Linked DNA regions of Homo sapiens: region 2 is linked to region 1. Evidence: promoter capture Hi-C in 16 types of primary human blood cells and fetal thymus (Javierre and others, 2016). All regions are on one chromosome and are shown on one strand. Each heading gives the region's core, a stretch centred on a gene start or on the middle of the fragment in contact. The rest is flanking DNA. Distances are from core to core; before and after follow the strand shown. Region 1 holds the start of MRGBP (MRG domain binding protein). Region 2 has its middle 18 kb from the start of NTSR1.

What was found. The method cuts DNA at HindIII sites, captures the fragments that hold promoters and counts their contacts. A CHiCAGO score of 5 or more calls a contact.
Region 2: a fragment that was not itself captured here is called in contact with the fragment with the promoter of MRGBP in region 1 in 1 of 17 cell types (monocytes); the score reaches 8.1 in monocytes.

Annotation. Positions count from the first base shown.
Region 1 is chr20:62,794,719-62,798,523 of GRCh38, forward strand. MRGBP (MRG domain binding protein) reads left to right here and starts at 1,755. Exons shown (of 5, transcript NM_018270.6): 1 at 1,755-1,953; 2 at 2,392-2,513. The coding sequence starts at 1,806. RefSeq lists silencers at 1-60, 1,522-2,061 and an enhancer at 352-898. The HindIII fragment of the contact is 13,279 bases long and covers 1-3,805 here.
Region 2 is chr20:62,688,974-62,692,778 of GRCh38, forward strand. It overlaps a transcript of SLCO4A1 not described here. Among named protein-coding and RNA genes, the nearest start is that of NTSR1, 18 kb to the right of the region's middle. The HindIII fragment of the contact is 8,947 bases long and covers 1-3,805 here.

The DNA.
Region 1 (3,805 bases), core at 505-3,004:
CTATGCCTGCAGTAATTGTGGGGTTTCTGGTTTTGTTTTTTCCTTAACATCTTTATTGAGACCGTTAAGTTCACCCGCTTAAAGCGCACGATTCGGTGGGGTTTTGTTGCGAGCAACCGTGGCCACTATCTAATTCCAGAGCATTTCACCTCCTTAAAATGAAGCTGGGCCCGGCCGGGCGCGGTGGCTCAAGCCTGTAATCCCAGCACTTTGAGAGGCCGAGGAGGAAGGATCACCTGAGGTCAAGAGTTCGAGACCAGCCTGGCCAACATAGTGAAACCGCGTCTCTACTAAAAATACAAAAATTAGCCGGCCGTGGTGAGCGCCTGTAGTCCCAGCTACCCGGGAGTCTGAGGCAGTAGAATCGCTTGAACCCAAGAGGCAGAGGTTGCAGTGAGGCGAGATCGTGCCATTGCACCCCAGCCCGGGCAACAGAGCGAGACTCTGCCTCAAAAACAAACAAAAAAGAAGCCGGTCCCCATCCGCAGTGACTCGCGTTTCCCTCCCCCTCCCCCGTCCCCGGCAACCGTGCATCTACTTTCTATTCCTATGGAGTTGCCAGTTCTGGCTCTTCCTGTGAATGGATTCCCATGCTGTGTATTTTCGTGTCTGAATTCTCTGACTTTCGTCTCAGCCCGCACCCACGCTGCCGCAGTCCGCGCTCGCTGCTTTTAGGCTGAACGCGGCTGCGCCGTGCGGGTGCCCGCGCTCCGGGCGCCCCTCGCAGGTTCAGCCCCGGGTTGGGGGCGGCGCTTGCCTCGCGGCTGCGGGTCCCAGCCTGAACCTGTGTCTTGTTCCACTGCCGCGGGCGCCCGCCACGGAGCTGCTGCTTCCTAGGGAGACGGTTCCATCGTTGAAGGAACGGCCAGACTGTCTTTCGCAGCAGCGGCCCATCTGACCGCACAGCACGACCGCACGAGGGTCCCGAGCCCTGACCCTCGCAGCACTCGTCACCCCGGCCGCGTGGTTGTGGCGGTCTCGGCGGGGCAGGGGGTCCCCACGCGGGCTGATTCTAGTTTCGCGTGACCGATGGTGCTCATTAGCCATATCTGTACATCTTTTTTTTTTTTTCGAGTCGGAGTTTCGCTCTTGTTGCCCAGGCTGGATTGCAATGGCGCGATCTCGGCTCACTGCCTCCCGGGTTCAAGCGATTCTCCTGCCTCAGCCTCCCGAGTAACTGGGATTACAGGCGCCCGCCACTACGCCCGGCTACTTTTTTTGTATTTTTAGTAGAGACGGGGTTATACGATGTTGGCCAGGCTTGTCTCGAACTCCTGACCTCAGGTGATCCGCCCGCCTCGGCCCCCCAAAGTGCTGGGATTACAGGCGTGAGCCACCGCGCCCGGCCCATCTGTACATCTTCTTTGGAAAAATGTGTATCCAAATCCTTAGCCGTTTTATAGTTAGATTGTCTTTTTATTATCGAGTTATAAGAATTATTTATACCTTCTACAAGGAAGTTCATTATCAGATATAGGATTTGCAAATATTTTCTCTCATCTGTGGGTCGTCTTTTCACTTTTCTGATGGTTTCCTTTGAAGCACAGACTTTTTTGTTTGGGTGCAGTGTATTTCTTACTGTGCTTTAAAGAGGAACACGTTTTAAGAACCCCCGCGCGGGGCGGAGCAGGGCGGAGTCCCCGGCGGGAAGGGACCCGAGACCTCGGCTGCGCCTGCGCCGACGCCGGCGCGTGAGCCCGAGCGCGTACCCGGCGGAGCGCGCGCCCGCCCCCGAGTGCGCCTGCGCGGAGCTCGTGGCCGCGCCTGCTCCCGCCGGGGGCTCCTTGCTCGGCCGGGCCGCGGCCATGGGAGAGGCCGAGGTGGGCGGCGGGGGCGCCGCAGGCGACAAGGGCCCGGGGGAGGCGGCCACCAGCCCGGCGGAGGAGACAGTGGTGTGGAGCCCCGAGGTGGAGGTGTGCCTCTTCCACGCCATGCTGGGCCACAAGCCCGTCGGTGAGCGCCCAGGCTGCGGACGCGCGTGGGGGCGGGGCGGGCAACCGGCGGGGCGGGGCGGGGCCTGCGCTCGCGACACCCTCGCCCCCACGCTCCCCGCCGAGCCCGGGCCGTGACACCGCCGCCACACCCGTCCCGGGACCCCCGCCCCCTCCCACGCGCCCTTCGGACCCCGCCCCGGACCCCGCCCACGACCCCTACCCCCGTGAGACCGCGAGGTCCCAGCCCGCAGTGCCCCACCCCCACCCCCGCCCCGGGACAGCCCACCCCCTCCCACACACACCACCCAGCCCTGCCCCCCCACAGCCCCTCCACACCCTGGCCCTCCCCATCTCTCCGCAGCCACCCTTGCCCCTCCAGTCCCCAGGGCAGCCCGTCCCCTCCATCCCCTTTCTCCTCACCGCTCACCGGTTATCCCGCCGCCCCTCCTCCCCTCAGGTGTGAACCGACACTTCCACATGATTTGTATTCGGGACAAGTTCAGCCAGAACATCGGGCGGCAGGTCCCATCCAAGGTCATCTGGGACCATCTGAGCACCATGTACGACATGCAGGCGCTGGTGAGCCCAACCGCCCTCCCTGTGCCGCCCGATGGGGGCACGAACCCGCACACCGCTCTCTGAGAGTCAGCCTGAGCTGGGCAGAGGCCCCTCCATGTCTGCTGGGGTCTGCTGGGCAGAGTAGAGGCCCCTCCATGCCTGCTGGGGTCTGCAGTGAGCTCTCAGGGTCAGCCTGAGCTGGGCAGAGGCCCCTCCGTGCCTGCTGGGGTCCCCTGGGCAGAGACCCCTGCAGTGAGGCTCGTCCTTAAGGAGGACATCCCGGGGCTCCAGAGCCTGTCATGGAAAGCACAAACACAGTGCTAGCAGCTGGCTAGCTTTTCAGGGGCTCTGCTTTAGACTGGGTGCTGGGCCAGAGTCTCCAGCTGAGACCCTGGGGAGGGAGGGAAGGATGCAGAGTCCCGGGCCCTTAGGCCATTGTCAGCCTCCTGGGAGGCCCCCGAAGTGCTTTAGGCAGAGGGTGACCCTATCTGAGTCACACCAAGGTGAATTTGGTGACTTCTGTGGGAGTCAGACAAGTAGAGTTCCAGTCCTCGCAGAGCTTGGAGCTGGCACTGTGTGACGGGCGAGCGGGTTAACTAGGTAAGCAGGGTGGCCAGAAGAGACAGGTGGGTGTTCCAGGCCCTGTGGCAGCAGGAGGTGGTGGGTCCAGGAGCTCAAAGAAGGTGGTGTACTTGGAGAGTGGGGTGGGGGTCAGGGGTCAGGTGACCAGGAGGAGTGGGGACCTGTGCTGGTGGAGAGTCTGTGCCAGCCACGTTGGACTCAGGGCCACACCGGCCATCAGTATGACATAGGTCTCTCCCTCTGGTCTGTGCGACCTCAGGAGGGCAGTGCCTGGCAAGCACTCTCTTCTTCTTTGCCTGGTTCTGTGCCTGTGGCGCTCCCAACCGACACCCTCGGTGTCCATGGGCTCCTGCCACGTGGATGAGAACTCGAGGTGCCTGCGGCCTTTCCCCAGGGCTGTCACTGTGCCCTCTGCATGCCGCCTTGGGGAACGCAGTCTCATGGTGAGACTGCAGGCCGTGCTGGGCAGGCGGAGCCCACAGGTGTGTGTCACCAGGGCTGCCCGGTCCTCAGGGCCCGCCTTAGTGATGCTGGCCCCGGTGGGTCTTCCTGACTCCTGCATCTGCTGCCGCTGGTTCTGCCCTCCCTGGGTCTGTCTGGAAAGCCCAGCTGTGGCAGGCGCTGTTCACAAAAAGAAGAAATGCCCTTTGCCCTTGCCCCGCCCGCCGCAGCCTCCAACACAGTGATGTGTGCTCATTGGCCTCTCCCCAAGTGGCTCTTACACGGCTCTA
Region 2 (3,805 bases), core at 661-3,160, 110 kb before region 1:
ACAAAAGCTCGAGCACAGTTAATTTCCTCTGACATTTCCTCCTGTGGTTAGTCTTGGAGCCAGCAGGTGGCCGGAGGCGCCCCATTCTTTCCCATAAATGGACGGTCTCTAAGGAATCAAGTCAGGCCCTCATCTCCAAACCCTCATCCCATTTTTCCCTGGCCTGCACGTGGCCAGCTGTGCCCCGCGCCTCGTAGGCCTGTCCCTGGCTGTGCCCCGCGCCTCATAGGCTTGTCCCTGGCTGTGCCCCGTGCCTCGCAGGCCTGTCCCTGGCCGGCTGTGTCCCGTTCCTCGCAGGCCTGTCCCCGGCTGTGCCCCGTGCCTCGCAGGCCTGTCCCCGGCTGTGCCCCGTGCCTCGCAGGCCTGTCTCTTGGGCAGAGTGGCTCCCTCTCTCCATCAGTCCTTCCTCCATCACACCGGTGCTCGTGCAGAAGCCAGGGCTCGCAGACATCACCCTAGGCACTGAGGATACCAGCTGCCCGAACGGACAGACGGACAGATGCTCAGCCTCCTCAGGTGCTGGCCCATGGCCTCCCAGGCTGGATGAGCAGCAGGTCCCTACGGGGGACGTGGCAGAGGGGACCCCAGCCCCAGCAGGGCCCAGCGAGCCGGGTGCCCAGCACAGCACTCACCTGAGCAGCTGTCTCCACCCCGCATTGAGCCCCTCCTGGGGACCGCCCCTTTCCAAAGACGCCCTGGTCATCTTAGACCCCCAGACCCTCCGGAAGGCGACCGCCATGCCTTAATAACTTGCGGGGGCTCAGGCAGAGCTGTAGGGATCCTGCCAAGCTGCCCGATTCCTTGTGTTCCTGGCAGGGGGATCCACATCATCCTCACCCCACTCCATGTGTGGGACGGGGCACCCAGGAATGTCTGGGGCCGAGGAAGGGGGTGGACCTGAGGGAACCCCTACCTGCAGAAATAATCATGAAAGGGGTGGAGCAGATGCGGGGGACCCGCGTCCCCACCCTCACCCCCAGGGGCTGAGTCGACGCCTGCAGCCAGCGCCTGCACTCCTGTTCACATGGGCTTCCCTGGCCTCTGTGCCTGCTTTGCGCCTGCGCGGCAGGTGAACGACCCCAGCCCCCTTGCCTGGTGAGTGGGCCTGTCTGCCGTGGATTCCCCAGCTGCATGGTGCCTCGGGTGCCCGCGATGGTCCTGGCCCCCTCCCTCGCATCGGCCACCTCTCTGCTCCAGCGGTGCTTCCTGTGTGTCCTCCCAGTAAACCTCCTGCCCCTGACCCCAGTCTCCCCTCTGTCTCAGGGGCCCACAGGGAGACAGACAACCTCTGGGTGTCCGACGTCTCATCAAGTCCTTTGATACTCCAGGGGAGTGGGGTTGACAGTTTTCCATGGGAGGACGGAGCTCAACAGAGGGTGTCACCTGCACAAGGTCACCATAGGCTCTGACCCTGCAGCCAAGGAAGGCTCTGCAGGAGCCCCGGGAATCCCAGCCACAGAACAGGAGGGAGCTGCATGCTCTCACTCCACGCCCGCCCTCCACCGAGCCGCAGGCCAGAGCCCTGGCTGTGCTATTACTCACTATTATCTCAGATTTACCATTCATTTTACCAGGAGAGAAACTGCAAAAGGAAATTAACATTTCCATACTCTGCAGCGAGATACTTTCATGGACGCATTCTGAGATTTATTCTTTAATAATGGAAAGGAAACACCCTACTGGCTTCCAATTCGGGGCCTGACAGTTCATCCTATTCCAGGCAGAGAACCGCAATTCAATAAACGCGCTTTCATTTGTTTTGTTTTATTGACTTTGTTGTGTTAACTTGGTTGTGGGAAATGTCGAACATGGTAAACGGAATGAGGTTGGATCATGAACCCGCCCTCCCGGGCCTGCCGTCACAGCTTCCACTGTCAGCCCCCACATCTCACCCACCTGCCCGCGCACAGTCTTCCCCAAATTATAGTTCTAATATTATGTGGCAAAGTCAAGAATTCCCCAGTGATCCGTTGGCCGATTGACAGTGGAGAGGAGTGGTCTCAGGGGGCTGCCCTCGGCGCTTCTGTTAAAGGAGAAGCTCCCCAGCTCTGGGATGGCCCCTGGGGGTCTCCAGTACACCCCGCCGGGAATGACAGAGTCCCCAGGACTTCAGCGCAGCCTCTGCAGACCCCAGGCCGGGGAAGGAACCGAATACAGGGCTGTTCAGGAGCATTCAGAGTAGAAACCAGCTGGACCACAGCCCCGGAATGTTTTAAAAGAAGTAATACTAAGGTCCTAGGATTACATTTCCTCAAACATGTTTTCTTTTTTTTTTTTTTTTTTTTTTTTGAGACAGAGTCTCACTCTGTTGCCCAGGCTGGAGTGCAGTGGCATAATCTGGGCTCACTGCAATCGCTGCCTCCCAGGTTCACGCCATTCTCCTACCTCAACCTCCCAAGCAGCTGGGACTACAGGCGCCCGCCACCACGCCCGGCTAATTTTTCGTATTTTTAGTAGAGACAGGGTTTCACCGTGTTAGTCAGGATGGTCTCGATCTCCTGACCTCATGATCCCACCAGCTCGGCCTCCTAAAGTGCTGGATTACAGGCGTGAGCCACCCGCCTCGGCCCAAACATGTTTTCTGAAGTGACTGGGCTGTGTAGACAAATCCGTCTGTGGCAGCGACATGCTGCTGTGATGAAGCTCATCATTAGCTGTCACAGGAAGCAGCAAATTATCTCCAGTCGGCTCTTCTCAGACTGAAGCATCTCAGGAACTAATGTCGTTATTATCAAGCCTTGCAATTTCCAGAGAAGACAAGAACCTATTCATGCACGACGCTGTTAGAATTTTCCAACTGGTTACAGAAAATGAAACCGTGGGCTGGACCCACCATTTCCTGCCTTCACTTGCGGAGTAAGAGGCTCAGGAGCCACTGGCGAGAGACCCCCGGGGGGCATCTGGAGGGCCCCGCTGGCCACCTGGGTTCCAGTGCCCACGCTCACGATGTCTAGCTGCAGGTGACAAAATCCAAGTCAAACCAGCTTGAGGAAAGGCAGGGCCCAGGGCAGGACTCAGGGGCTAGAGCAACACCCCCAGACCTCTGTGCCTCTTCCATCCCCAGCTCTGCCCACGGCCACCAGGAACCCACTTGGCAACCGGTGAGTGGGGCCGCCCTTCCCAGCAAGCCCAGCGAAAGGGCTCTGGGTTCCACACTGGCTGATGCCCCCATCCCAAGACCCACCCCTGGGGCCTCGGGAATGGGGCCTCTGGTTGCTGGGGGGGGGGCAGCCCATCCCCCAGACCATGAGGGATGGGCTCTCTGTGACCCCGCAGAAGGTGCGGGGCTGGGGCGGGGCCCCCGTGAGTCTGGGAAGCTAAACCACCACAAGGCCCCTCCTATGCCTGGGTGCCAGCTGCCCACTGCAGAGCAGGGCTGCCTGACCGGCTGTGACGGCCAACAAAGAGGCACCAGATTCCCCTCCAGAGGACATGCTTGTGAAACAGAAGTGGCATTTGGAAAGGATTACAGAGCCAGACTCTGGGATGTGAGGGCTGCTCAGGATGTGGACAGCAAGATTCTTCATTTGGCGATATCCGGCAGCCTCAGCCCTTTTCAAAAGAAAAATAAAATAACAGGCCAACAGGTCTTCTCTCTTAGCCATCAAACCCATTACATATGGGCATATATTTAATATATCATGTATGACTCGTGTGTGTGTGTGTGTGTGTGTGTGTGTGTGTGTGTGTGTGTGTAGAGGAAGAGGGAGGGAGGGAGGCCGGGCAGGCAGGAACAGGGTGGGTATCAACAGGGGCAATGCGTGTAACAGGATTCAGAGCAATGCAGGCATGTGGCATGCACCAG